Linked DNA regions of Homo sapiens: regions 2 and 3 are each linked to region 1. Evidence: promoter capture Hi-C in 16 types of primary human blood cells and fetal thymus (Javierre and others, 2016). All regions are on one chromosome and are shown on one strand. Each heading gives the region's core, a stretch centred on a gene start or on the middle of the fragment in contact. The rest is flanking DNA. Distances are from core to core; before and after follow the strand shown. Region 1 holds the start of EMILIN2 (elastin microfibril interfacer 2). Region 2 overlaps EMILIN2 (elastin microfibril interfacer 2). Region 3 overlaps SMCHD1 (structural maintenance of chromosomes flexible hinge domain containing 1).

What was found. The method cuts DNA at HindIII sites, captures the fragments that hold promoters and counts their contacts. A CHiCAGO score of 5 or more calls a contact.
Region 2: a fragment that was not itself captured here is called in contact with the fragment with the promoter of EMILIN2 in region 1 in 1 of 17 cell types (monocytes); the score reaches 7.2 in monocytes.
Region 3: a contact is called between a fragment that was not itself captured here and the fragment with the promoter of EMILIN2 in region 1, in 1 of 17 cell types (monocytes). The highest score is 9.2, in monocytes.

The regions. Positions count from the first base shown.
Region 1 is chr18:2,845,697-2,848,396 of GRCh38, forward strand. EMILIN2 (elastin microfibril interfacer 2) reads left to right here and starts at 1,310. Exons shown (of 8, transcript NM_032048.3): 1 at 1,310-1,626; 2 at 2,113-2,235. The coding sequence starts at 1,493. RefSeq lists silencers at 1,528-1,577, 2,198-2,287. The HindIII fragment of the contact is 11,570 bases long and covers 266-2,700 here.
Region 2 is chr18:2,883,075-2,885,774 of GRCh38, forward strand. It overlaps EMILIN2 (elastin microfibril interfacer 2), which reads left to right. Exons shown (of 8, transcript NM_032048.3): 3 at 1,890-2,065. Among named protein-coding and RNA genes, the nearest start is that of EMILIN2, 37 kb to the left of the region's middle. The HindIII fragment of the contact is 6,579 bases long and covers 1-2,700 here.
Region 3 is chr18:2,804,713-2,807,412 of GRCh38, forward strand. It overlaps SMCHD1 (structural maintenance of chromosomes flexible hinge domain containing 1), which reads left to right. Exons shown (of 48, transcript NM_015295.3): 48 at 1-305. Among named protein-coding and RNA genes, the nearest start is that of EMILIN2, 41 kb to the right of the region's middle. The HindIII fragment of the contact is 507 bases long and covers 1,156-1,662 here.

The DNA of each region.
Region 1 (2,700 bases), core at 60-2,559:
CAGTGGTGAGATCCCGGCTCACTGCAACCTCCATCTCTCTGGTTCAAGCGATTCTCCTGCCTCAGCCTCCCAAGTAGCTGGGATTACAGGCATGTGCCACCGTGCCCGGCAAATTTTTTTTTTTTTTTTGTACTTTTAGTAGAGACGGGGTTTCTCCATGTTGGTCAGGCTGGTCTTGAACTCCCGACGTCAGGTGATCCACCCGCCTCGACCTCCCAAAGTGCTGGGATTACAGGCGTGAGCCACCCCGCCTGGCCCATAGCAAAGCTTTATTCACTTAACGAGTCATGGCCAACAGCGTCTGGTTAGCTCACAGAGGCCACAGTTTTATCTGTGGAGTCTGGTAACCACGCCACTCACGACCCTGTACATTGATTAGATGCAGCAGGTCATCTCAAACACACAGCTCTCTCCAACACCCCTTAGAATACAACACTTGGGTGGTGATTTTACTTAACATTCTGGTACTTCATCCCAAAAAGACATCGGTAGAGATTAGTGTAACTCAACAACAGGCAGAAAACATACAAGAAAGTTTAAGACGGATGTCTAGCAGTGCCTGAACTGTTAAGAAGCAAACGTGAGTAAATGCCTTAGTTTCAATAGAAAAAGAAAGTTCACAGTGGGACCTCAGAAGCAGAGGCTGTGAGATCACCTTTCAAGAATTGGAGGAGAATTGCAGTAAGTGATAGAGCCGGACGCTGAGCTGCAGCAGCCTCTGGGAATTGGCGGGGCTGTGGCTTGTCCTGTCCTGCCGCCCCCCGCGTGGCCTCGGAAACTGTCAGATGGTGCCTAAGGCAGAGTTGGGCAAAGAAAGAACCAGCGTTCGTTTCCTCCTGGACTCTCTAGGTCCATGGAGCTGGTGGGGGAACGGCCCTGTCTTGCCCGAGGAGGAAATTCGAGTCGAGCCCCCACTCCTCTCCCCGCGGGACTGATAAACATGTCCCTCATTCGCCCCGGGAGGCTGGCACCCAGGCACGACGCGAGGACGGCCAGACTCGCCGACGGCGGCCGCGTCCCGGGGGGCCGGGAGCGAGCCTGTCGGAAGGTGGGAGGCGGAGTCGCTCGGCATCTGGGAAGAGACCAAAGGAATGAGTCATTGGAAATGCTGTAACGTAGACCCTTATCCCAAACCCTTTCGCCCCTCCACCCCGAGCCCCCTGCCGAGAAGCGAAGGGACTGGAGACGGGGAGACTTGGTGGGGGGAGAGTCACGTTTCGGAGAGGGAAGTGAAATAAAGAGGGCGGCACCCGGGGGGACCTGTGCGTCATTGAGGGACCGGGGAGAAGCGCAGGGCGCACGGGGCTGCAGAAGGAGAAGTAGGAACGAGAAGCCGGAGGGGGCGGCCGCGGAGCACTGGTTGGAGCGCCGCGAAGCGCCCGAGCCTCTTGCCTTCGCGGGCGGCGCCCTGGCCGCCGGCAGCCTTGTGGCCGGTGCCCCGATCCGCCGCGCTCCGGACCCGGGCAGGCGGGGCGCGCCCGCTGCGCGCGGGATGTGGCAGCCCAGACGGCCCTGGCCCCGCGTGCCCTGGCGCTGGGCGCTGGCGCTGCTGGCCCTGGTTGGCGCGGGGCTGTGCCACGCCGGCCCGCAGCCCGGGTATCCCGCGCGGCCCAGCGCCAGGAACAAGTAAGTGCGCGCCCCTTGGCTGGCCCCAAACCGCCTACCCCTCCCCGGCCCCCAGTTGAGCCCCAGAGCTGCCCTGCCAAAGACGACGAGCGGCAGCCGGGGGCCTCCCTTGGACTTCCCCGGGCGGCTCCCTCTGCGGGGGACCGCGCGCTCCGCAGCCGGCGCCTCAGGCAGAGCTGACTCCGGGGGCGTGGGCGCAGAGAGCGTCCCGCAGACCCGGGCGATCCGAAAACGACTCCCAGGAATTCCATGAGCCCCTGGGACCATGGGTGCTTTTCTTTCCCGTCTTGGTCGGGTCCAGGCGCGCGCTCTCCAGAGGCGCACCCGGGCACCCTCCGGCGTCTGCTCGGTGAAGCTCCCGCCTCCGCAGAGGGCGACGGGCCCCCCCGACCCTCGCTCGGTCTGGTGCCGCAGTCCCCTCTCCCCTGGCCTCATTGTTCTCCGGGTTTACCCCGTGCCCCTCTCCCTCTCTCTCCTGCACCCCAGGAACTGGTGCGCCTACATCGTGAACAAGAATGTGAGCTGCTCCGTGCTGGAGGGAAGTGAGAGTTTTATTCAGGCTCAGTACAACTGTGCCTGGAACCAGATGCCCTGTCCGTCGGCGCTGGTGTAAGTCCTGGAGCCGGGGAGCGGGCGGGGCGCGCCCGGGCCGGGGCGGTGGGGGTGGGGTGGGGTTGCTGCGCTGGGCTCCAGTCCCTCCGGTAAATCCCTTCCAGATCCGGTGAAAAGCCCGCAGCGGAAAAGCGCTCCGAGCGCTCGCGGGGCACCGGCCACGCTGGGCTATTTAGGGAGTGGGTGCTGCCCGAGTGAGTGGGGAGGATGCGCGCGCCTCGGGAGTGTGGGGTCGCGGGGGCGTAGGAGAGGATGAACAAAGCTCCCACTCCCACTTCTGTTTTCTCCCTTTCAATGTTTGTTTGTAACATAAGGCAGCTGAATCTAATTGGATCCATATTGTGTGTTCTGGGGCACACAGAAGATTCCAAAATGTATACTGCTAAAGACTATTCCGTATAGGATTCGCTGAGAGGTTTGGCTAAGTAGTGTTCTAAAACGAGTGAGTTCTGTCCGTATGTC
Region 2 (2,700 bases), core at 6-2,505, 37 kb after region 1:
AGGGACAGTGGAAGGTGCTAGGAGGTCTAATGGGCTTGGCGGGTCCTAGCTGTCGGCAGGGCCCTCTTGGGATTCTGCAGGGTGCCTAGCCAGTCCCAGCGGGGTGGATCCTATACCCAGAGTGTAATTGTCAGTGTGTGACCCTCGGGGAGGATGTCAAAGGTCCAGCACATGATTTGTGCTTTCCTCAGGGAGGTAACTTTGAAGTCCACCTGCCACAGGGCTGGTGCTTGGGAGGGAGTTGCTTTGCTGGGTAACCCCGCTGCTGCTATTGTCCCGCCTCCCCCCATGGGCAGCTCTCAGCAACCCTGAAAAAGTGACACTCAGCCTATTGCTTTCTGGGAATTGGCTCAAGAAGAAGGCCAGCTGCTGGTGCTGGTGTAAGAAATGAAGAGGAGCTGAAGAGCTTCAAGAGAGATGATTTGCAAGGCAGGAAATCACAATTGGGCTGAAGTAGGGAGGCCCCATCCTGTGTGGCTGTGGCTTTTGCCTGTGCTGTGAGCAGGGGCCGCTGCGGGGGCTGAACTCCTGGCTCCTTCCCTGGTGAGCCCGGGACTGCAGGGCTGTCAAAGTCTGTTGTGGGCCCAGGCCCGGCCTTGAGTCTGGAGGACTTTCCAGCTCACTGCAAAGCTCTCTGTGTGATATTCCAGGGCATGAGGGGATGTGCACTGTCAACAGGACTTTTTGAGTGCTTCCAATTCTGCTTCCTGATTTCTGTCATTGACAGTATGAACCAGGGCATCTTTGTAAAAAGTGGACACAAATAGTGTGAGCTGCCATCTGCAAAAGCTGGTGGCTACCTTTGCTAGCATCAGGAAAGGGAGGTGCAGCGGTAAACACACAGACATGATGGAGAGCAGGGTGCCAGGGATGTTTCTTTCTTTCTTTTTATTTTTTTTGAGTTGGAGTCTTGCTCTGTCACCCAGGCTGGAGTGCAGTGGCGCGATCTCGGCTCACTGCAAGCTCCACCTCCCGGGTTCACGCCATTCTCCTGCCTCAGCCTCCCAAGGAGCTGGGACTACAGGCGCACGCCATCACGCCCGGCTAATGTTTTTGTATTTTTAGTAGAGACGGGGTTTCACCGTGTTAGCCAGGATGGTCTCGATCTCCTGACCTCGTGATCCGCCTGCCTCGGCCTCCCAAAGTGCTCAGATTACAGGCGTGAGCCACCGCGCCCAGCCTCTTTTTCTTTTTTTTGAGACAGTCTCGCTGTGTCTCCCAGGCTGGAGTGCAATGGCGTGATCTCAGCTCACTGCAACCTCCGCCTTCTGGATTCAAACAATTCTCGTGCCTCAGCGGTAGCTGGGACTACAGGCATGCGCCACAACACCTGGCTAAGTTTCGTATTTTTTGTAGAGACTAGATTTCACCATGTTAGCCAGGCTAGTCTCGAACTCCTGGCCTCAAGTGATCTGCTGGCCTCAGCCTCCCAAAGTGCTGGGATTACAGGCATGAGCCACTGTGCCCGGCCAGGAATATTTCTTTAAAACACAAAACAAAACAATCTCTAGTGACACCTGAAACAAATCCCCACAAACTGAATTGTAGAACAGAAGTTTGGTGAAACAAAAGCTCAGTTTGGGGGCTGAAAAGTATCCTTCTCAAATGGGAGTCTTGGTGGAGATTTTCTAAGCTGTGTGTTCCCCTTGCTGGGAAACGGGTGCTCAGGGCAGGTGGAGGATTGGGGAGCCCCTGCCTTCCTGAGGCTGATCTGAGTTAGGCTGAACCCCCCAGTCAGATCTGGACTGAGGAGACCAACATCCCCTCTGGGCCAGCCTGGAGAGCAGGCAGGGTCCTGCATGCCCTGAGTCCTCTTTATTTGGGTCTAGCGCCGGAAGTTGCTTGTAACGGCAGCCAGTAAAGAGAGATGCCATCCCTTCTGTCCACAGGTATCGAGTGAACTTCAGACCTAGATATGTCACTAGGTATAAGACAGTGACACAGTTGGAATGGAGGTGCTGTCCTGGCTTTAGAGGGGGAGATTGCCAAGAAGGTCCCAAAGACCCCGTGAAGACCCTCCGCCCCACGCCGGCTCGGCCTCGAAACAGCTTGAAGAAAGCCACAGGTAACTTCTTATTTGTGCTATTATGTATGGCCACCTTTAATATTTCCGGTGCTCCTTCAAACAACAGGATTTGTGCTTTACAATGGTGAGCTTTGAATGGCCTTCGAATAACACACATAGATACCTGCAGTAGCCACATGTGACAAATTTATTCTCAGGAGCAGTAGCAATTGTAAGACAAACTTCCTTGCAAGTAAATTGCTTTGCTAGGGCCAGCTTGTTGTGAAAGCCAATGCCTTAAACATCAGGGTAGGAAATGCCAGTGGGTTCAGACTTGTGTCACCTGGAGGCACAGCTGTGAAGAGATTCAGATGTAATGATGTACTGTTTGTTTTTACTTGGGCCCATACATCTGAATTTAGGGGGGTTAAAATTGTTTTTTATTTTTTATTTTTTTGAGATGGAGTCTCGCTCTGTCGCCCAGGCTGGAGTGCAGTGGCGCAATCTCGGTTCACTGCAACCTCTGCCTACCTGGTTCAAGCAATTCTCCTGCCTTGGCCTCCGAGTAGCTGGGATTACAGGCGCCTGCCACCATGCCCGGCTGATTTTTGTACTTTTGGTAGAGATGGGGTTTCACCATGTTGGCCAGGCTGGTCTCCAACTCCTGACCTCAAGTGATCTGCCCACCTCGGCCT
Region 3 (2,700 bases), core at 159-2,658, 41 kb before region 1:
ACTGAGGTTCATGTTGTACCAAATAATAATAAATTGCTTTTGTGTTTAATATGTAACACGTAAGAACAATTGAAATTTTCTTCTAAGATTTAATACTAGTCTTTTAGTATAAAGGAATGTAACTGGAGAAAAAAATTAATGCTACAGCCATTTATCCTGTGTTATGTGTTATATAATCTGAAATTTGTCACAATGTTACAATCAGGAAGTTTTTTTTCTGGTTTCTTCTTCCAAAGGAAAATAATAGCCTACTTGTATTTTGAAGTAACTGAAATAAAACTCTCTCCAAGCCTTTTTGCACATTACGTTCATCAGTTTTCATGTGTACATTTGGCCAGGCCTATGGTAAAAATAGGCTCAATTTACTTAACATTTTTATAGGGTTTTTGGTATAAGATTCTTTACAGAGACTAAAATTTGTTGCATATATAACATTCAGATTATTTTAAGTGAAATTGGCTCCTATTGTTAAATATTAGTGCTAAGGAAAGTTCAGTCTTCTAAACTGTCTATACTTTGGCTCTGTGACTTGATTACTTTATAGTCATTATGAAATTGATGGGGTTAATTCCATTGTATTTTTAGTATAGAATTTTCAAATAATACATTTTAGTAAAAAAATTGAATGTTTAATTTTCATACTGTGAAACTGGTGAAAAATATTAAAAACAACCATTTAAAACTTCTGGAAATGGTCCTGAGGACAAATGGCAATGAAGAAACATCTATTCAAGAACATTTACAAAAATTCAGTAAGGAAGATGAGAATCTGTGGTAGTTTGAACCAAGACTGACTACTCACTTCCACCTCCAAGCTCAGCAAGCAGACTAACGCAGCCAAAAACGCTGGGTTCCTTATCCCACCATCTCCCAGCCAGAAATTTTTTTCCCGAAAGGAGCGAGACTGTAGTGATTCTTGTCCTGCCTTCAACTGCCTTTTGCTAGCACTAAGTCCTGGGTCAGTGTGGCCAGGTGAGAGCCGTCTTCTCCCCACCAGGCCACAAAACCTTGAACACATGTGCTGAGATTGCTGGGGCCTTGATAACTCTCTGGCTCGTGAAGTAGGATTCTACCCCAGGAAAAGCAAGCCAAGAGGATCTCAGGCTACTGCCCCCTTCCATTGCACTCAGCTTCTAGAGCTAGAATGCCAACTCAAGCTTGCCATTGTCCCCACCTCTAGCTCCAGATCCCTGGCTCAGAGATTTTTGCCTGCAAATGAGGTAGGATGAAAACAAAACAGGTAGCTCTTAATCTCTTTCCAAAGGAACTGACTTTTAAAAAAAGAGCATGAGAAGTTTAAACTAGAGAGCTCGAGACACACAGCAAAAGAAGTGCAACATAGAGTAATTTATTGTAAAGGAGAAAGAATATTTTGAAAGTTAAGTGCAGGATAGACAGTACACCCTGAGAGAAAGGATTCAGGGCAGGCTGCTTTTAAGGGTGAGACTGCAAAGACTACACTAGTGTAAACAATAGAACAGTAAGCCAGCAATTAGTGGAGTTGAACAACAGGGTATATGGTCAAGAGGAAAAAGTGCGCGAGAGTACGCAGGATTTCTGGGGCATACCAAAAGCTGTGCCTCCCTGAGGAAGAACTTGAGAAACAACGCTGTTGGGATTAGGGAAGGATAGACTTCACTAAAATAATCCATCCAGGCACTAAGCTTAAGCAAATAATAATAACCAAACCAGAGGGAGGTGAACTAGTAGAGTAACTACAGTATGTTATTTAAAATGTCCAGTTTCCAACAAAAATGTATGAGGCATGCAAAGAAACAGTGTGACTCATACACTGGAAATAAAGCAGGCAGCAAAAACTGCCTGTGAGAGTGATCAGATGTCAGATTTAACCAAAAATTAAAGTACCCATTATAAATAAATATATTCACAGAACTAAACAAAAGATTAAAGAAGTAAACATTATGACAGTGTCTCATCAAATAAAGAATATCTCCTAAGCAAACTAACAGGAACAGAAAACCAAATACCGCATGTTCTCACTTATAAGGGGGTGTTCAACATTGAGCACACATGGACATAAACATGGGAACAATAGACACTGTGGACTGCTGGGGTGAGGAGGTGGGAGTGGGTTGAAAAACTACCTATTGGGTACTGTGCTCGCTACCTGGGTGCAATATACCCATGTAACAAACCCACACATGTGTACCCCGTATATCTAAAATAAAAGTTGAAATTATGTGTGTGTGTATATATAATTGAGATATATATATATAGAGAGAGAGAGAAATGTTTAAAGAACCATGTGGCAATTCTGGAGTTAGAAAGTGCAATAACTGAAATTTTAAAATTCACCAGGGGGCTTAACAGTAGGTTTGAACTGGCAGAAGAGAGAATAGGTGAATTTGAAGACAGATTGTAGAGATTATGTAAAAACAGAGAGAAAAGGCAATGAAGAAAATAGAGCCTCAGAGAAATGTGGAACACCATTAAGTGCAGCAATGTGCACTTAATGACACAGAAGGTAGGAAAAATATTCAAATACATAATGGCTGAAAACTATTAGAATACAATAATCTATACATCCAGGAAGCTGAACAAATTTCAAGCAGGATGACCACAAAGAGACCAACAGATAGACACATCAAATTCTGAAAGTCAAAGACAAGGAAAAAATCTTGAAAGCAGCAGGAATAAAAGTATAATACACATCTCTTACAAAGACAGCCCCAATAAGAT